Regions from separate parts of the Homo sapiens genome. Here regions 2, 3, 4 and 5 are each linked to region 1. Evidence: promoter capture Hi-C in 16 types of primary human blood cells and fetal thymus (Javierre and others, 2016). All regions are on one chromosome and are shown on one strand. The core of a region is centred on a gene start or on the middle of the fragment in contact, and the rest is flanking DNA. Distances in the headings are between cores, read along the strand shown. Region 1 holds the start of INTS7 (integrator complex subunit 7). Region 2 holds the start of ANGEL2 (angel homolog 2). Region 3 overlaps ANGEL2 (angel homolog 2). Region 4 overlaps NSL1 (NSL1 component of MIS12 kinetochore complex). Region 5 overlaps LINC01740 (long intergenic non-protein coding RNA 1740).

The links. Contacts are between HindIII fragments. The CHiCAGO score rates a contact against its expected background, and 5 or more counts as called.
Region 2: the fragment with the promoter of ANGEL2 here is called in contact with the fragment with the promoter of INTS7 in region 1 in 8 of 17 cell types (naive CD4 T cells, fetal thymus, total B cells and 5 more); the score reaches 8.4 in naive CD4 T cells.
Region 3: a contact is called between a fragment that was not itself captured here and the fragment with the promoter of INTS7 in region 1, in 1 of 17 cell types (total B cells). The highest score is 5.1, in total B cells.
Region 4: a contact is called between a fragment that was not itself captured here and the fragment with the promoter of INTS7 in region 1, in 1 of 17 cell types (M1 macrophages). The highest score is 5.2, in M1 macrophages.
Region 5: a contact is called between a fragment that was not itself captured here and the fragment with the promoter of INTS7 in region 1, in 8 of 17 cell types (naive CD4 T cells, naive CD8 T cells, total CD8 T cells and 5 more). The highest score is 8.1, in naive CD4 T cells.

What each region holds. Positions count from the first base shown.
Region 1 is chr1:212,033,548-212,037,622 of GRCh38, forward strand. INTS7 (integrator complex subunit 7) reads right to left here and starts at 2,010. Exons shown (of 20, transcript NM_015434.4): 1 at 1,797-2,010. The coding sequence starts at 1,890. It overlaps DTL (denticleless E3 ubiquitin protein ligase adapter), which reads left to right and starts at 2,201. Exons shown (of 15, transcript NM_016448.4): 1 at 2,201-2,395. The coding sequence starts at 2,344. RefSeq lists enhancers at 1,861-2,070, 1,949-2,485, 2,231-2,470, 2,486-3,020. The HindIII fragment of the contact is 8,834 bases long and covers 1,925-4,075 here.
Region 2 is chr1:213,013,604-213,017,678 of GRCh38, forward strand. ANGEL2 (angel homolog 2) reads right to left here and starts at 2,264. Exons shown (of 9, transcript NM_144567.5): 1 at 2,010-2,264. The coding sequence starts at 2,068. RefSeq lists enhancers at 1,101-1,689, 1,690-2,277, 1,990-2,299. The HindIII fragment of the contact is 5,816 bases long and covers 1-3,710 here.
Region 3 is chr1:212,994,517-212,998,591 of GRCh38, forward strand. It overlaps ANGEL2 (angel homolog 2), which reads right to left. Exons shown (of 9, transcript NM_144567.5): 8 at 2,639-2,802; 9 at 1-676. The coding sequence ends at 525. Among named protein-coding and RNA genes, the nearest start is that of ANGEL2, 19 kb to the right of the region's middle. The HindIII fragment of the contact is 2,093 bases long and covers 822-2,914 here.
Region 4 is chr1:212,753,559-212,757,633 of GRCh38, forward strand. The region is part of intron 4 of NSL1 (NSL1 component of MIS12 kinetochore complex); the gene reads right to left. Among named protein-coding and RNA genes, the nearest start is that of NSL1, 36 kb to the right of the region's middle. The HindIII fragment of the contact is 970 bases long and covers 1,273-2,242 here.
Region 5 is chr1:212,553,116-212,557,190 of GRCh38, forward strand. It overlaps LINC01740 (long intergenic non-protein coding RNA 1740), which reads left to right. Exons shown (of 3, transcript NR_125985.1): 2 at 1,297-1,333; 3 at 2,728-2,951. Among named protein-coding and RNA genes, the nearest start is that of LINC01740, 9.5 kb to the left of the region's middle. The HindIII fragment of the contact is 213 bases long and covers 2,162-2,374 here.

The DNA of each region.
Region 1 (4,075 bases), core at 760-3,259:
TTTTTTTCTTACAACTGCAAAATTTGAGGAATTAAACCATTCTAGACTCCTCTTCAGTGCCCCATCTTTATCCCTGTTCCACAACCACTATCCTATTGTCAGCATGAGACAAGCTCAGCTGCACCAGAATGGTAGAAAATGTCCTTAGAACTCGTAGGGATATTAGATATTATCCTGACCTGTAACTTTCACTGAGGAATAAGAAAGAAATGTATCAGAATGAGGAGGAAAGTGTTTGAAAAACACATTTAAGGCCGGGCGCGGTGGCTCATGCCTGTAAATCCCAGCACTTTGGAAGGCCGAGGCGGACGGATCACCTGAGGTCAGGAGTTGGAGACCAGCCTGGCCAACATGGTGAAACCCCGTCTATACTAAAAATACAAAAATTAGCCGGGCGTGGTGGCGGGCGCCTGTAATTCCAGCTACTCGGGAGGCTGAGGCAGGAGAACCGTTTGAACTCGGGAGGCGGAGGTTGCAGTGAGCCGAGATGGCGCCACTGCACTCTAGCCTGGGCAACAGAGCAACACTCTGTCTCCAAAAAAAAAGAGAAAAACACATTTAGTATTATACTTTTTTTTTTCAGAGGAGAAAACCCCTAAAGATTTGGTAAGAGAAGGAAAAGTTCAACATAATTTTCTTGGTTGATGGGGGTGCACTAAAGATACTGAGACTCAACCAAAGGAATATCCCATTAGGGGGCTGTGAAATTTTTGTGTTTATCAAAATAAGGTAAAAGCTTTTTTAAGAGCCTGAGAAACTCTTATTTAGACTAACCCACTAAAAATATTCACAGTTTAAAAAATAAACAGAAAAAGAGTCCCAAAAAAGTTAATAGACATGTCCAACTCAGAAAACTGGGAAGTGGCTCAAACCCTTCTGAGTTCTAGTCCAGTTCTCCAACATTATATATTGGCTACGATTAATCAAGATTTAATTGTATACCAGCTGCCGAAATGTTTCCCGTACAATAAAAATCCTCAATATGAAATAAAGGTTTCATATTACTAGTCGAGTTCTTTACTAACAAATTTCCGACCTTGCCTCCCATATCCACATCTAAGAAGGGAGGTATATCTCTTCAGCATTTACTAAATGCTTCTTTTGCATACCATTAAGTCACTTAATACAATTCTGCCGGCTCAATGGTACTGTACCCACTTTGCAGACGACAAGCCGAGGCTAGATGAAGTTAATCATAAAATCAGCGGCATTGAAACTTAACTCAGTGTAACCCCAAAGCTCCCTCTACACCAAGCTGCTCCCTGTACGGCAACAGAACTCCTGGAACTTGTCCGCAGAGAATGAGCAGGGCCCTTGCTTTTTTATGGTCTTGGCCAGGTTTAGCCTGCCTTGTAACCCGCAGGTAACAGAGCTATGGAAATCAAATGAATCGCTGTCAAGTCGGTGCAAGATTACTATTCAGCACATTTCATGAAGACCTGGTCTCAACTGAACAGACTGAAAACCAATTTCACAATTTCTTTGCAGTGTCTCTTAGAAACTAGCCACTGTCACTGCTTAGAAAATCGGGGGACTGCTCCCTCAAGTGGTCAAAACGGGCCTCTCACTAGAGCTCGCTACTTGTTTAGCCGGTATAAGGCCAGTCACACAATCCTGCAAATTTCCCGCAACCTCCCGAAGGGGTCAAAGCCCACGCCCCAGCAAAAGCACAGGCGCTCCCCGCCCAGCGAAGACATGCGCATGCGCCTATCCGTCTTCTCCCAAAGCAACCACCACCTGGTGGCGCCACTTCCCCCCACGCCTGTTTCACCCATTCAGCCCTCTCTTTCGAATACCTTTGTCCAATTCCATAAGGGCAGAGTTGGCATCCAGTTCCTGTTCGCCATAGCCGGCATCTGCCAGGAAAGACTTAGTTGAGTTTGACGCCATGACCCGAATAGTTACTCGACTAGCCTAGTCAGAAAGCTTGCAAACTCTACCCCAGGACCGCCATCTTCCCCCGCCGCCTTCTTGCTGGTTTTTCTTCCGCGCGCTGTCAAGCCCTGTTACGCATGCGCCCTGGTCACCCCGCGGTTTGTCCGCGCCTCTGCTACCCCCTGCGCAGGCGCTCAAGGAGCTCTTGGACTCCAGGTTCCCGCGGCTGGGAGAAAAGGAGGCGGGGATCCGAAGGGGGAAATGACTCTGAGGCGCCCGGACGTCGCTCGGAAGCCAATCAGAGAGCGTGACGTCAGTTTGGCGCGGAGTTTGGCGGCCGGGGCTTACAGTGGCGGGAGTTGGAGGCGATAACGATTTGTGTTGTGAGAGGCGCAAGCTGCGATTTCTGCTGAACTTGGAGGCATTTCTACGACTTTTCTCTCAGCTGAGGCTTTTCCTCCGACCCTGATGCTCTTCAATTCGGTGCTCCGCCAGCCCCAGCTTGGCGTCCTGAGAAATGGTGAGTAACGGTCCCAACCGCTGCTCGGAGCTGGCGGAATTCATTTCCCCCGAAACACACGCCACCTCCGACCAGGGCCGACTCCAATTCTGAACTCAGCTTCTGAGTTCTCCCATGGCAAGGGTAAATTAGTGTTAGCAGGGACTACTAAAGAAAGCTGTACTTTCATCCCCTCGGGACACTTGTAATCGTAATCGGGCTTTTAAAATCGTAACGTAGGCAGGGACGTCGAAATAACTGCCTTCCAAGGCCCCTTACAGCTTACATCTCCATTGCGCGTTAACGGGAAAATGCATGCATTTGTGTGTATATGTTTCCTTCAACGGTTATTTGAGATGCTCAAAACTCCTAATCATTGATTAATTCATTCGTTTGTTGTAGAATCTTAGTGAGCCCAGCTATGTGCTATAGGTATATACCAGTGAATATGACCCGCTGTTAAGGAACTCAGTCAAGCAGAGAAGACAGGATATCTGCTTCTAACAGGAACAAAATCTTATTTTCCCCGTTTACTACACGGTCATAAAAATTTAAATTATAGAGTGAAAGATGCCTGTAACCACATCCGCCAGAGATGACCCCTGTTAATAGATTGAAGTATATTATTCCAGATGTTTTCGACGCTAGAGGTAATACCTATTATTTTCAGAAATCGGATCAAAACGTCCAGTTTTTTCACTTTAATGGTATAAGTTGAACGTATTCCCATGTTAATACGTAGAAATCTAACTTATTTTCTTACGCTAAAACATTGGCAATAAGAGATTTGAGGTTAGATTTGGATGTCATCAACTTAAACTTTTTGGTAAGTTTCAGATAAGGGAGCTAACTACCCAGATTAACCTTGGACAGAAATAAAATCTCACTCATGTGAAGGTCGACTATAGCCAGAGGTTCTTTTTCCCCTTGAAACTATGTGGAAAACGAACCTGAGAAGGGAATTTTTATATTCAGCGATGAGTCTAGGAAAATAATATTGAGAAAGAGACTGAGAAGTAGTCCCTCAACTTCCTGCTAGCAGTCTGAAACTTTATACCATCCTTATTTATTTCCCTCTTAGATAATCTTTGTAATTATACTTAAATGCTCCTCTTTCTGTCTCTCCTGGGACCTTGTTTGAGTAACTTCTTTGTCCTCTGTTTAAGAGTGACAGTACGCACAGTGGCTAAGAACTCTGTCTTTGAAGTTAAACTGCCTGGGTTTTATTATACTTCCACACCTTACTATATGTGTGTTCTGGGGGAGCTGTTCAGCCTCTATTTTGTGACAGATTTTCTCCTAATTCTCCATGTGTTTACCTTTCCCTTCCCTCTTTCCTATTCTCAAGTACTCATTCGTTGTTACATAATAGTCACTGAAATTCATTCGTTATTATATGAAATCTATAGAATCATCTCCTTTCCTCTTCAGTGTTGGTGTTCCATCCTTGACCCCTTTTCTTCTTCTACCTACTCCTTTGGATGATCACAGCCACAACCAGGGCTTCTTCCACTTCTACATACATACAACCTTCTGTTACTTATATAGTAAGTCCTCACTTAATGTCTAGATAGGCTCTTGGAAACTGTGACTTTAGGGAAAACAGTGTATAACTAAACTAACTCTACCATAGGCTACTTGATATAAATAAGAATTGTTTCAGTGGCATATTTTGGTCACACAAACACCACCGAACTTCTA
Region 2 (4,075 bases), core at 1,014-3,513, 980 kb after region 1:
CCTAAAAAACCATGAATGGTATTCTGAATACTTAACACAGAATGCCTCCCAGGCTCCCAAAATACCACATACCCCTGAAAATGTACATAGTTCAACTGAGAGATGAATCAACTATCAAAATGATATTCAGAGTAGCTTTCAAGCACCTACAAAACTCAATGAGAAAATAAAATACACAACAAGTATTATACTGAAATCGAATAAGGAACTCATATCACACTACAATTAAAGTAAACCTCTCCTCCAACTTGGAGTAATAACAAGTTTCTGAACAGTTTTTTATACCAAGGGCAGATTTTTCCAAACACTTGTATAGTTAGGAAAACAAAAGCCTATCCACAACTTCATAAATTCACAAAACTACTTCTCTTACTAATCAACGGGTGGATAATTTATTTCTCCATTCTTTTTTAAGCATGATTCTCGTTGGGGGAAATGAAAGAGGATGGGGATGACGTACTACGAATGCACCAACACTCCAAACCAACAGCTTCAATTTAACCCATCATCCAAAACATCTCCAAAGTGGCGCTAACATTTTTAATAGGTATGTTGCTCTCAGGCTCTCAAGAAACACTTCAGCTTAATAAAGCACCATGTTCCTCTCACTATACTACTTTGGCAAAATGTTAAGATTCAGAGAAGGACTTTTATCCTTTCCTCCAAAATTCTTAACAGCTACATTTCTACCACAGCATCAATAATGTGCGCTCCCATCCCTAAGGGAATTTTGTTTAAGTTGCGTTTACTGTTATTTAACTTTATACGCTGTTATTCTCGTTTTAACAGCATTTAAATTTTTATTATAATTTTTACAGTTTAAGTATTCGCTAGTTGTTCTCTAAAATCTACTTAATTGTAAATCTTTAAAGGCATAACATGGGCATTCTACACTGCTTTGTGATAACTCTGAAAGCCATAGGAATTTGGGCACTTGGTCCATGCATTTTCTATGCTAATAAGCCACTGTATTGAAATATAATACTTGTACTACAAAAGCTATTATCTATATTTGCAGTTATTTATTCAGACTTTTTTTTCTCTTAAGATGTTAAGCTCCTTCAGGGCCAGAACAGAACCGTCTTATTCATTTTAATTCCGTTATCTTCACAAGTGCCTAGCACAGTGCCTGGCAAACAGCTGGTACTCAGGAAACATTGTTGAACTGAATTACCATCAAGTCCCAGGCCTATGGGAGTTACAACCAAATCCCCATCGCTTATGTAATAATACATGCTGTGTTTCCCAAGCGTGGTGGGTGGTACACGAGTCGGTTTCACAGAGTACACAGTTAAATTACTTGATTGTAATTTCTAAATACTTATGTTAGTTTATTAGGAAAAAACATAATCGCACATCAAATCCAAGACTCTGCAGACACTGCTTAGGGTGAAGCTAATGTGGGCAGCACCTACTGAAGTGCTTTTTAAAAAAAACTGAGTCAATTTAAAGAAAAATATCCAGTAAATAATACACGTGAAACAAGAACTTGGCCATAACAGTAAGGGATGACATACAAGTGACTAAAGTTTGAAAGACACTAACACATCAACAAAAATCAAGCCCCTCCTGGGCGTGTGCCACACACGCGCCTCCAAGGGATCAGGCCCGCCGAGACCTACTGCGGAGAGGCGGCCTCCCCGCCGACGCTCGGTTCCCGGGACGGTGCTGCGGAGTGTGTGGAGCAGGCCAGCGCTGGTCTGGAGGCTGGGTTGGGGGAAGCAGGCCAGGGATCCAAAGCCACTGGCACAAGCCTGGCCGGCGGCCCATGAACTCCGCGCCAAGACCCCAGACCTCGTTGGCCCAGCGTCCCGCCAGCTGCGCGGCGGGTTTACCTATCCCGCTTGGTCTCTGGAGGCTCGTCCCGGATGCACCATCGCCCAGACCCTCTTCCTCTTCCTTCCACCCCTAGCCCGCCCCGCCCCGCCCCGGGTTAGTCCCGGACGCCCGCCCGCTCTTTCAGGCCGCCCGCCCCTCTCTCCTCCCTCCGAGTACCCAGCCCTACTGACCGGCCTCTTCCCACCACACAGTGGCCGTAGCCCTTCCTCACACAGCGCCAGGCTTCCATCTTCGCCCTCCGCGTGCGTCCAGTTCCCAGGCCCCGGGTTCCACCTCAATCTCTATAATCGATGCGACGGCCTAAAGTATCTAGGGAACCCCATCACTCTTAAGTACCGACTCCAGTCCTGGCTGCAAGGCATGCTGGGAGGTGCAGTCTCGCCGGCCGGCCTACACTCCATCTTGCGCAGTCAGAGTCCCTGAATGCCTTAACCCGGAATTCTGCTCAAGGAGCATGCGCAGAGCGTGGGACGCGCGTGCAACCATTTCTGAAGAGGGCAAAACACCCGAACTTCGTCTTAAAGAAACAGAAATAAACTTTCTTTTTTTTCTTTTTCTTTCTTTCTTTCTTTTTTTTTTTTTGAGATGGAGTTTCGCTCTTGTCGCCCAGGCTGTAGTGCAATGGCACGATCTCGGCTCACTGCAACCTCCACCTCCCGGGTTCAAGCGATTCTCCTGCCTCAGCCTGCCAAGTAGCTGGGATTACAGGCATGAGCCACCACACCCGGCTAATTTTTGAATTTTTAGTAGAGACAGGGTTGCACCATGTTGGCCAGGCTGGTTTCGAACTCCTGACCTCAAGTGATTCGCCCGCCTCGGCCTCCCAAAGTGCTGGGATTACAGGAGTGAGCTACCGCGCCCGGCAGAAATAAACAGAGCAGTGAAAATTTTTAATTGCCCAAAGTGCAGATTCCCAGCTGAGGCTGAACAACGCATCCTCTGGGTGCCCATGGAACTGAGGTACCACAGAATTTTGCAATTAATGTTGCGGAAGCACAGCCATAGCTCTCACTTTAAAATGTACGTGTATGGGCCGGGCGCGGTGGCTCACGCCTGTAATCCCAGCACTCTGGGAGGCCAAGGCGGGCGGATCACGAGGTCAGGAGATCGAGACCATCCTGGCTAACACGGTGAAACCCCGTCTCTACTAAACATACAAAGAATTAGCCGGGCGTGGTGGCGGGCGCCTGTGGTCCCAGCTACTCGGGAGCCTGAGGCAGGAGAATGGCGTGAACCTGGGAGGCAGAGCTTGCAGTGAGCAGAGATCGAGCCACTGCACTCCAGCCTGGGCGACAGAGCGAGACTCCGTCTCAAAAAAAAAAAAAAAAAAAAAAAAAGTACTTGTATGTCTTGTGTGTCCACCTTTATTAAATGTATTATAGGACTGTAGATTGTTGAAAGACATTATTTAAGTGGAGACCCTGCAAGAAACAGGAAGAGAGAAACCGAGAAAGAATAAAGTGTGGAGAGTAGAGGGGAAAAGGATACTAGAAGGCAGGAGCACTGCTTTTATAGGCTCTTTGAAACAGTGGTAATTTCTTGGGAAGGCTTTTCTTATCCCTGGTGCATAAAAGGAAGTAAAGTGTATTTGAAAAAAACCTTTCCCTCAGTATGTAATTGATTCTTGTTATTTGCAGTAGTTAGGTTCTGTAAAGTTGCTGGAAACACTGAATTAGTAAATACTGAATCATTACTCCTAAGGGAAATACAGGATTAGGATCCTGTAAGCCTCTGGTCGCATTTTCATCAACTTAATCAATACATAGTTTTGTTGTATGTGTGTTTCCGCTTAAAGACATCTTATTTAATATATATTGTTGATTCATTAACATTGAACTCAGTCAACAGCACTATAATTCATACCTCAACAAAGCTTATCTAACACTGCTATTTTCTCTGCAAGGCTCATGACAGCCTTCTTGTGCTTAGGAGCACTATACAGCACAACGCTTGGGGACCATTTTAAACAGCAACATCAACAAAAAGTACAAAAACGTGAAAAACATATCACTAAATGGAATGTGAAAAGGACACTTGGTCCTGATGGCTCACGCCTGTAATCCCAGCAATATGGGAGGCCAAGGCGGCTGGATCGCTTCAGCCAGGGAGTTCAAGACCACACTGGACAACATGGCGAAACCCCGTCCCTACAAAAAATACAAAAATTAGCCGGGCATGGTGGCTCTCGTCTGTAGTCCCAGCTACTCCAGAATTTGAGGTGAAAGGATTACTTTAG
Region 3 (4,075 bases), core at 618-3,117, 960 kb after region 1:
TATCAAACCCCTTCAAAAACAAACTAAACAATGGCTGGTTGGATACCTGTGAATGACCCAAGGCTTTCTAAGATAAACTATTTAGAACTCAATAGAGGGGTCTCCTAATGAAATCAAGCCTTCTGGAAAGGAAACAACTTGTAGTTTGCAAGAACTCAAAGATACTTTGGATCCACTACAGAGCTTGCCAAAATTATGAAATGAAATTTTTTACTAAGCAGACAAAGGAAGATGCATTATATTTAAAAATCACTGTCAATTTTACTAGGATTTAGAATATAAAACCTTTACATCTCTTTTACAATAAAGAGAATTTAGAGCTCACTTGTCACGAAAATATTTTTCATTATTAAAAAAAATTGTTATAAAGTTATTTCTTCTGATATGGAGTTTCAAAGCATCTAACATAACCGCTTCAGAATCTCCACAGTGCAAAAATAAACAACATGCATACACTTAAGAACTTTACATTCTTTGAAAAACAATACAAATTGGAAAGAAAATTAGTATGTGATCAAAGAGAGTCAGAGCTCAAGTCTGAACTTTGCCAATAAAGGCAGATGATCTGAAGAGTTATTTTCGTTTGGAAGTCCATTAACAGTCCATAAGTCTTGTTCTGTAAGAAGTGACAGTCTAGCTAGAAGTTTCAAGCCACCAACCAAAGCAACTTCAGCTCCTACATTAAAGAAGCACACACATATTTAGTAAAATTGTCAACGGGTTATTGTAAATTAATCATACAAGTCTTTTCTCCAAACAAATATAGAACTTGAGGCCCCTCCAGAAGACTAAAAACTATGACACAGTTTTTAGAATATCTAAGCTTTATTGAATTATAACCTAATTATAATTATCAAACACACAGCAGTTTGAGATATTTTTTCTATTTCCAGCTCTGTAAACAATCTTTAGAAGAAAATATAAATGAAATACTTAAGAATGTTAAGGGTAATTTGTGGTTGACAACTACATAAGAAACTCATCCAGCAACCATTCTGTAGTTGCATAAAGCCAGAGACACCGGGCCACAGCCCTGTAGCAGTTTATAAGGTGAATGGAGAATAAATTAGTATAATTTAGTCCCAGATAGTCAGCACCCACAGAAGTGAAGATGACATGCTCTTTTTGAAATGCTGATCCATAACACTCTCCTGCCACCAAGTGAACTTCTGTCAGCATGACAACTACGAAAACCTTACTATAAATTCAAAGCAGCAGGCATATTTTTTGTAGAGTAGATCTAGTGGCAGGAATAAGTCATCTCGTGAGTGTTACTAATAAGGTTATTCCCAGAAGAAAGGAGGGGGGAACAAACAGAGGGGAAAAGGGTAAAGAAAAAGAAGCATCCAAAAAAATGGAAGAGAAAAAAATGAAAAAAATCAGAAAAGAATAAAACAGCTGCTCACATTCCAAAGTTTTCTTAAAGGTATTTTTGTACTTCCAGTAATCTTAAACTGCATTTTCTTCTCCACTTTAAATCCTTTGGCTAATGTTTAAAACCTGATTTTCGGCCGGGCACAGTGGCTCACGCCTGTAATCCCAGCACTTTGGGAGGCCGAGGCAGGCAGATCATGAGGTCAGGAGATCGAGACCATCCTGGCCAACACGGTGAAATCCCGTCTCTACTAAAAATACAAAAAATTAGCCGGGCATGGTGGCGGGCGCCTGTAGTCCCAGTGGCTCGGGAGGCTGAGGCAGGAGAATGGTGTGAACCTGGGAGGCGGAGCTTGCAGTGAGCTGAGATAGCGCCACTGCACTCCAGCCTGGGCGACGAGCGAGACTCCGTCTCAAAAACAAACAAACAAAAAAATTATATAGACTTTTCTGACCGAATGTGGTGGCTCATGCCTGTAATCCAAGCCACCCTGGGAGGCCGAGGTGGACGGCTTGAGCCCAGGAGTTTGAGACCAGCCTGGGCAACACGGTGAAACCCTGTCTCTACAAAAAATACAAAAATTAGGTGGGCATGGTGGCTCATGCCTGTAGTCTTAGCTACTCGGGAAGCTGAGGTGGGAAGGTCACTTGAACCCGGGAGACAGAGGTTGCAGTAAGCCGAGAATCATGCCACTGCACTCTAGCCTGGGTAACAGAGCGAGACTCTGTATCCAAAAAAAAAAAAAAAAAATATATATATATATATATATATATATATATACTTTTCCTCCTCAGAAAAATCCAATATTCCAGAGTCAACATGACAGCATAAGCTGTGTTGCTGGCAGTGTAACTATGGTCCTCCAATGAAGGCAGGACGCCTCGGTAAAATTTAAGCACAAAACTATGATGACCATTAACAACATACTCAGTTCCTGTCACAGGAAAAACAGTAAATTTATGGCAAGCAAAAAGAAAGGGCAATATGAAAGACCTATAACTCAGAGGCTGACTGGAACTGGAGGGTAGGACTGCTAATGTAATTCTTGGGTAATAATTTGCTTGGATGTGTTTTATTGCCTCCCTCATATGCAAGTAATCAACTGATTTATTCAAATATATTACCAATCTGTCTATTTCGAAATATTTTTACCTTCTAGATCTAGAACTTCAACTGGATGTTTAGAGAGCTTTCTTAACTTTAACCTTGAGGTTTTAGCTACTGTGCTCTCTAGGAGAATTTAAGATTACATGCATTCCTTACCTGGGTGCCCAGCAACATCTTCCTTTTCTGCAGAGTAGAAAATATAATCCACAGTTATGGCACTTCGGGAATGACAGGTGGTCACTTCTGGAATTCCAGTGTCAGGAAAGTAATGTGAATAAACAGATGACAAACTGAAATGGTGCTGTAAATTTGAAGACAATCTAAATAGAAAAGAAGAAGTGTTTAGAATCCGAGTTTTTGTAACTTCAAGAATTCCTCCTATCTGAATTTCTTTTTCACTTAATTTCTAGACTAAGACCAAACATTAGGACAAGCTTTATTTAAAAAGACCATATCATAATTTAGTATTAATTTACTTATGCAGTGATATCTAAAACCCATCAATAAAGCCATTATAAATGTGGTTTTTAAAAAAAGCTCAATAATTAACATACTAATGTGTTTTTTCATTATTTATAACGTGTGAATGCCTCCACTTACTAAAGAACATGTATTCTAACAAGTTTTATTGTGTTTTTAAGAAAGAGAATCAAGGGGGTCTTCAGGAACACTATTTGGAATCCTCTAGACTTTTGATGACAGAGAGGCCATATTCTTCTCTAATTTTTCTTGCTATCACATATAATTTTGTACTGCATCTTAAAACAGCTTCTCTAATGGTTTATTATATTTGCCCCATGCACAAATATATGTGATGTTATGAGTAAAAGGTTTAAAGACTATTTTCTAGTGATACTTTATGAATCTTAAGGATCTTTTATGCCTTGAAGGAAAATAAAATTAAAAAAGAAACTTATCCAACAAACATTTACCAAACATCTTCTAAGTTCTAGGCAATATGTCAGGTGCTGAGAATACATAGATGAAGATGTTTCCCTTGCTTTTAAAGTGTTCATATGTCAGGAACAAAGGTAAATCCTTAAAAATGCCCTCTAAGTTTTATTAGCAACTTTTTATGTCTAAGGATTTATAATATTAAACATAAAATAGGGCCGGACGCGGTGGCTCACACCTGTAATCCCAGCACTTTGGGAAGCCAAGGCGGGAAGATTGCTTGAGCTCAGGAGCTCGAGACCAGCCTGGGCAACACAGTGAGACCTCATCTCTACAAAAAAAAAAAAAAAATCTAGAAAAGTAGCTACGCGTGGAGGCACATGCCTGTGGTCTCAGCTACTTGGCAGACTAAGGTAGGAGAAAGGCTTGAGCCTGGGAGGTGGAGGCTGCAGTGAGCCAAGATCATGCCACTGCACTCTAGCCTGGATGACAGTGAGATCAACTCTCAAATAAAAATAATAAATAAAAATAGGTCTTCTGCAAACTCTTATCTATCAATTTTTCAGTTTACAGATATAAGCTATGCATATAAACACTCTGTATTTACATAAAGATACAAAAAAGTATCTTTTTTTTTTTTTTTTTTTGAGACAGAGTCTTGCTCTGTCGCCCAGGCTGGAGTGCAGTGGCATGATCTCA
Region 4 (4,075 bases), core at 508-3,007, 720 kb after region 1:
TAAACTCTATAGAGTAAGAACTTTGTGCTGCTCACTAATATTACATCTGCCACATTGAGAACAGTTCTGTCATACTGTAGCCATTCAATATATACAACTGAATGGACCAATGAGTAACAGTCACTCATGATGTATTTATTGGGCATGCTGCTATATGCTGGCTATATATAATGTAAATATAATATTAAAAAACTCATGGAGCTTTCAGTTTTGTGAGAGAGCATAAACAAGAAAATAAACACAAATACTTATAAGCTGTAACAAGTACTATTAAGGAAATAAACAGGTGTCATGATAAACAACTGGGGAGAGTATTTTAATGAGGGTGGTTAGGTAAGATCTCTCTGAGGAGGTAACATTTAAATGAGAAAAGAGAACTGGGAAGATGTCAAACTTGGGCAAGGGGGCATGCATGTGTGACAGTGAGGCACTTTCAAAGAACTGAAAGACTGGCAGCAAACAGGAAAGTGCCTGAAATAAATCTGGAGAGGTAGGTAGGGGCCAGATCACCTAAGGGAATGCTAAAAGTCTAGAGTTTAGGATTTTAAGCAGAGGACTGAAAACTGATTTGCATTTTTAAAAGTATCCTAAGACTTCCTAGTCAAGTTGATTTCAGTAGTGCATAAAACTCCCTTCCTATGTCCAAAAGCATCAGTGAATATAGAAAATTAAAATGACATATCCTAAAGCATATACAAAATAAAACATTTCAATGAACCAGAAAAAAAGGAGAAGAGAAAAAGCTGCAAGTCAGGCTAAAGCTGCAGGCCTACCGGTAAGCAGAAGTAGCCAGGAATTGGCCTCCTGCAAGATAAAAGGTGTTCGAAGTGCTCCAGAAGAACAGGAAACGAAGAGACAGCTTCACTGTTTGAAACCGAGGGCTGAGACAGAGTTTACCCACCCTGAAAAGGTGGCTGAAAAAAACTGCCACTAACCAGCCCGGCGCGGTGGCTCACACCTGTAATCCCAGCACTTAAGGAGGCTGAGATGGGTGGATCACGTGAGGTCAGGAGTTGGAGACTAGCCTGGCCAACATGGTGAAACCCCGCCTCTACTAAAAATACAAAAATTATCCGGGCGTGGTGGTGGGCACCTGTAATCCCAGCTACTCAGGAGGATGAGGCAGGAGAATCACTTGAACCCAGGAGGCAGAGGTTGCAGTGAGCAACCATTACATTCCAGCCTGGGCAACAAGAGTAAAATTCTGTCTCAAAAAAAAAAAAAAAACCAACTCAAAAGACAAAACTGCTCCTAACCGCTGCCAGGAAGCAAAGCTTACTTAAAGCTAAACCAGAAATGATGGGAAGCAGATAATGCCTCCAAGCCTGGGCCTGGACCAATCTCCAGTGTCACACTGGGACAGAGGCCCTCTGTTGCCAGTGTTAAGATATGGCTCCAGCCTGGGATTGTTTGGGGCCAGATGGAAGGCAACCAAACCTACTAGACAGAGGGAGTGAAAGCAGTGGTAGACAGATATGCACATGAAAAATTCTAGTCAAGAAGCACTTGCAAATCAAAAGTCTAAAATACATGAAGAAATTAAAACCATGAAAGACAGCCAGTATAACCAATGTCAGGGAGAGGAATTTACTGCAGATGAAATGAAAATAGAGCAATATAAAAATGACTTTAAAATGCTACACAGCTCCAATAGCTAAAGAAAATCATAAGACATTGCAAAAGAAAAATAGGTTATAAAATAAAAACATAAAATACAAAAATAGAAGAAATGAGAAAGAAGCAAAGTTGAAGGATTAGGTTAAAGATTTTCTAGAATATAGGAGTCCTCAGATAAAAGTATATATGGAGATGTTAATGGAAGATGGGAGAAAAGAGGAATCTAGCAAAACCAAATAATCTCTCACAAAAAACAAAAATACATATATAATATTATTTAAATAAAATTGTCTCTGTGTATATAAGCAAGAAAAAAATTACCAATAAAAACCATGGAGTTGAACTATGTTACATGTTGAGTGAAAAAAGAAAAACAATGACAGAATAAAATGCATTATGTAATATTTATATAAACAACTAAAAAAACCCCTGTGTCTACCTATGTGCATACAAATGCATTGATAAAGATCTAAAATTAGACACAGCAAACTGATAATAGTTGCCTATTTGAAGATGTGTGGGATGTGACAGATTGGGAGGCGAAGTTATGGTATATTTCATATAAATATGAATATGTATATATTTTCATATATATCTATATGTAATTATTAAAAATTTTACATTAAGCTTGCATTTATTAAAAGCACAAGAAATACAATTTAAAAGATAACCACAATTTAAAACAATAAGGTTAGAGCTACGGCAGTCGAATGGAGGATGTCTACCATAAACTTAAGCTAGGAAATTGCAGATAATTTGAACACATGAATAAATTTTCTGTAAATTATGCCCCCAAAATGTCCAGTGCATATTTATTCCTGTAACAATTATATAAGCACAGAAAAAAGGATAAATGAATTCATACCAGGTTAATGTTGGATATCTAAAGGGGTGACAGGAAGAGAGAGAAGAAACCAAAAACAAAAAGTAAAAATACAATGCTATCCTTGTTGGGTTTTTTTGAGACAGGTTCTCACTCTGTCACTCAGGCTGGAGTGTAGTGGCAGGACCATAGCTCACTGCAGCCTTGACCTCCTGGGTTCAAATGATCCTCCCTCTGCAGCTTCCCGAGTAGCTGGAACTACAGGCATGCACCACCATGCTTGGCTAATTTTTGTATTTTTTGTAGAGACGGGGTTTTGCCATGTTGCCCTAGCTGGTCTCAAACTCCTGTGCTCAAGCGATCAGCTTCCCAAAGTGCTGGGCTTACAGGTGTGAGCCACTGCATCCGGCCGACTTTGGTTTTTAAAAGGGACAATGTAATATGTAATTCAATCCTATTTATATAAAATTATGTATTGTTTGCAAAAATATAAATATTTATTGAGTGTACCATGTCAGAAAATAATCTTAAGAGTCAGGGGCTGGGCGCAGTGGCTCATGCCTGTAATCCCAGAACTTTGGGAGGCCGAGGTGGGAGGATCACCCGAGTTCAAGACTTTGAAACCAGCCTGGCCAATATGGTGAAACCTTGTCTCTATTAAATATGCAAAAGTTAGCCAGGTGTGATGGCGGGTGCCTGTAATCCCAGCTAGTCTAGAGGCTGAGGCAGGAGAATCACTTGAACCTGGGAGGTGGAGGTTGCAGTGAGCTGAGAGCGTGCCACTGCATTCCAGCCTGGGCGACAGAGCAAGGCTCCGTCTCAAAAAAAAGAAAAGAAAAGAAAAAAGAGGGAAAACTGGGCATCCCAAAGTTCTTGCTCACAGGGAGCTTACAATACTGTGGGGAGGGAAGAGGAAAATAAGGAGAAATTATATAATATCTGTAAGTGGCAGAGAAAAATAAAGCAGGTTAAAGGGATACAGTATGATCAAGGGAGTCATAAGAGAATCTGACACAGGTTGTAAGGTGTATCAGATGAAGTGACACTTTGAACAGAGAGCTGAATGAAGTGCAAGAGTCAGGCAGGTAGTTTCGGAGAGCAGTTTCAAATACAGGGAGTTGCGAGTATGAAAGTCGTAGGGCCAGTGTGTTCTTGGTATGTCCTGAAATAGCAAGAATATTAGTGTTAGTGGAGCACAGTAAGCGAGGGTGAGATGGTAAGTGAACACTGTCAGAGATGAGATCAGAGAAGCAGCCGGGGACCATATCATTGAGGGCCTCTTAGACCAAAGGAATTATAATGGGGAGCCACTGGAGGGCCTTCAACAGGGAGTGACATAATCTGATTATGCTTTAAAAGAAATTGTTTGGATGCTGTGTGAAAAGTAGAACTGGATGGAAGGAGACCAGGGTGTTAGTCTGTTTTATTACTATAAAGGAATATGTAAGACTGGGTAATTTATAAAGAAAAGAGGTTTAATTGGCTCACAGTTCGGCAGGCTGTACAAGCATAGCACCAACATTTGCTCAGCTTCTGGTAGGGCCTCAGTGAGCTTTCAATCATGATGGAAGCCAAAGGAGGAACGGTACATCCATGGCAAGAGATGGAGCAAGGATGTGGATGTGGGGAGGTGCC
Region 5 (4,075 bases), core at 1,018-3,517, 520 kb after region 1:
GGGTAAAATGACCAGCGGGTAAAGAAAAGAAAGATCTTCAGAGTCAATGGTTTTGGGGAAAGATGAATGAGTCCTTAGATGAATAGATGATGGTTTGTGACAAGGTCTGGGTGTGGTGGACTTCTGGCCTCCTCTCCTGTGATAAGAGTTAATCATCAGAGGTTTGGTAACAATTGACTTCATCTTGCAGGATGTGTCTTTAGGCATATGGAGGGAAACTCAGAGAACCTCTCCATTTTGAAATTTTTCAAGTGCCTTTAGCTCAAAGTAATCAATATACAAAAAAATATATATACCAATATACATATTTTGGGGTGGCATTTCCTGAACTCCTTCAATGGTGCTGGGGTTCAGAAACCAACACCCTAAAGTATGGCACTTTAACATGCTGAACTTCAGATGAAGCCTCTCAAGGTCTCTCTGGCATGCCCCACCCCTCTCCGCACTCTCTCCCAGAGCACAAGGCCAATCTGTTCTCTGAAGTTCCCTGATCTGCCTAAAGTTTGGGTCCACCAAAGAAGAAAACAATTACCTGTGGTCCCTTCCCTGAGTTTTCAGTAACTGAACTCATATCACAGGAAGAAAAACTGAAGTTTGTCAACAAATTTGGACAGACTTTTGTCACAAACCATTGTCTGCTCTGCGGGCCCAACAGACTTTGTCTCAGGCCATTGTATGTTCCTCACGCCTACTGAATTCCCCAAAATTCATTTACTACTACCCTAAAATCATCCACACTTCCCCATCTCCCTTTCTCCTAAGAAGAAGGGTATATACAAGCATCTGTGTCCCATTGCATGGTGGCGTAATCACTCTATGATAGTTCCCCTATGCATGCTAATAAGTTTGTATGCTTTTTCTCCCATTAATCTGCCTTTTGTAAGTTGATTTTCTCCTTATGAAAAGAGAAATATTAAGCTAATTGGGCTTACTTGGTATATTAAATTATACGGGAAGCATTGCCAAATAAGAAGTAAGGCTAAACCTTCTTTGGATTATATTTGTATGAATGTGTTATTAACATATTTCAGAAATTGTGTGAAATTCATAGAAATTTGATAGTTCTGGAATAACATTATCAGTCATAATTCTGGTTACTATCTTAAAATGTTGCATGCAACAGAAATAACCAAATTCCCTTCTCAATTGTGTTATCATCGTAATGAACTCTCATCAGATCTTTAACTATGAACATTTGAAGTCTTGTTATTCTCAGCTGGCAATTGTTTACTGTGGTCTATCTTTTTTCTTTCTCCCCTGTTTCCTTATGTCCTAATTACTTCCTTTTCCTTGCAGGAAAATCCATGGAACCATAATCTATGGATGGCTTTAGGTAAGGCTTATGCTCTAGCAAAAAACCAGAGCAACTGTTAGGCTTATGAAGATAAGCTAGTTTCCACTGAGGAATGATTCCAATGGGGTTCTTGAGGGCTCACTCTTGGCAGTAGTAGTGTATCAGTCATATGGAATTTGAAACCAATCCATAAATTGGGGAAAAATCCTGGACTTTGTGGCTAACCAGAACTCCCAGAGGTTCAAACGGGCAGAAGTCATCCTTTGAGAAAGGTGGATGATGGCATATATACTTTTTTTTTTTTTTTCTGAGATGGAGTCACCCAGGCTGGAGTACAGTGGGGCAATCTCGGCTCACTGCAACCTCTGCCTCCTGGGTTTAAGCAATTCTCTGCCTCAGCCTCCCGACTAGCTGGGATTACAGGCGCGTGCCATCACGCCCGGCTAATTTTTGTATTTTTAGTAGAGACGGGGTTTCATCATTTCGGCCAGGCTGGTCTTGAAGTCCTGACCTCGTGATCCACCCGCCTTGGCCTCCCAAAATGCTGGGATTACAGGCATGAGCCACTGCGCCCAGACAGCATATGTTTTAAGAAAAAACATTTACTGGAACATCATGTGGACTTAGAGCTTCTTTTCGCCCAAATTGGAGGCTTGTATATAGTATTGACAAAACTGAATATTGTGCCTGTCTGTCCCCTAATTTTGTTACTAGAGGAAGCTTAACTAAAAACAAAGGTGAAACTGCTGTTTCTTTAGACACTGCCATCAAATACATGAAGGAAATTTCTTAAGGGAAAGGAACACATGCTGTGTCCATGGCAGCAGCTAACAGTTGGTTTGCAGGAATCCTGAGTGGTGGATGGCAAGCTTGGCTTTTCCAGGGTTTTCTAATCTATGTTCTTCTAGTGGGTCTCCAGGTTACTAAGGCTTGTGTTATCAAGTTAATGACAAAATTGGATACTTATTTAAATCAGATCATTCTATAGCAAGCTGTGGTCCTTAATTTCCATCACACTTTGAATAAGGATTATGGCCAAATGGACTCAAATACTGTTAAGCTGCCTATATTACTTACCTAAGCTTTGACTTGTTTGATTTGGATCAATTTGGTCCCTCAGGGCTCCTGTTAAGGAATACGCTTCATTTTTTGGTGTTATCCTAAATACCAAATCCTATCTAACAGTCATCATGATAGTCCCCTGCTGTGCTGTATCCTCTCAAGTCTTAAATGTTAGTATGCAGCCATCCATTGAGCACTGAATGATCTCACTTTGACTAAATCAGCAAGAACATAATTATTCGACTGATGTGATAACTTGTGAATTCCATATTGAGACCAAGTAAGTCCATTTATGATGGTGACAGACAGTGGCATGAATCAGACATGTTTTTAGAAAGTTTTATTAATTTTATTTAAAATTTTATTTTCAGGAATGGGATTGACTGCAAAGGAGCACAAGGGAACTTCCTGGGGTGATGGAAATGTTTTGTCTTGATTGTGGTAATGATTACATGACTATGTTTGTCAAAATTCCAGAACTTTATACCTAAAAGGGTGAATTTTACTGCATGTAAATTATACCTAAACACATGACTTTTTAAAAAGGCCTGAAATCTTAACTACTCAGCTAAAAATAAAATAAAATAAAATAAACAATTTAGGTGCAAAACAAGTTTTGTTTTTGGGACTGACAGAGGTCCAGTGATTGTATTTATTTATAAAGCTAATAATCCAATCCAATATATCAATATCAATACTTTTAAATAGGATATAAAAAGTTATGAGATTTTTTAAAATAAGGATTTAGACTGCAAAATATTATGACTACAATGTTCCTGAAGCAACACTATCTTAAAAAATATCTCAAACAGAAAATAACACTCTAATGCTCTCAATCATTGCAATAATTGAAACTTCCAGAATATTACCATAATGCTGCTTATATTACATACCCAAAGCCCTGTATTTAATAGTTAAAAACAAAGAATTATTTAATACCAGCTAGCTTCATTACTTGATAGATTAACTTGCTTGACAGATCAACATTACTTGATAGATTACTGGATAGATCAACTAGCTTCCTAAAACATAACTGTAGCTCAGCTTCTAAAAAAGGTGAAAGAAATTATTATATTCAACTGAACTAGATTTTAAAAATAAAGACTATCAAGAACATAGGAAGAGGTAATTAAATGACGGGTCCTCTCTACTAAGGTTTCAATAGAAGCAAATACATCCGAGAAACCATTTACAAAGAACTCACCCTCATAATTGCCTTAGAGACCAAAGTCACAATTTTAAGGCCAAGATCTTTAGAAATCAGATAGGTCAGTGTGACGGTTAATTCTGTGTCAAACTTGACTGGATTATGGGGTGCCCAGATATTTTGGTCAAACATTATTCTGGGGTTATCTTTGTAAGGGTGTTTTGGATGAGACTAACATTTAAATTGACAGACGAAAGCAGAGTGCCTTCTATAATGTAGGTGGGCTTTATCCAATCATTTAAAGGCCTGAATAGAATGAAAAGTTTGACCCTCCCCAAAGTGAGTGAATTCTTCCTACTTTTGAACTGTGACATGGGCTTTTTCCTGCCTTTGGACTTGGACTAGAACTACACCATCAGCTCTCCTAGGTCTCAAGCTTGCTTACTCACCTTGCAGATCTTGGGACTTGCCAGCCTCCATCACTGCATAAGTCAATTCCTTATAATAAATCATATATGTGCACACACAGGCATGCCTCAGAGATATTGCAGGTTTGGTTCAAGACCACTGCA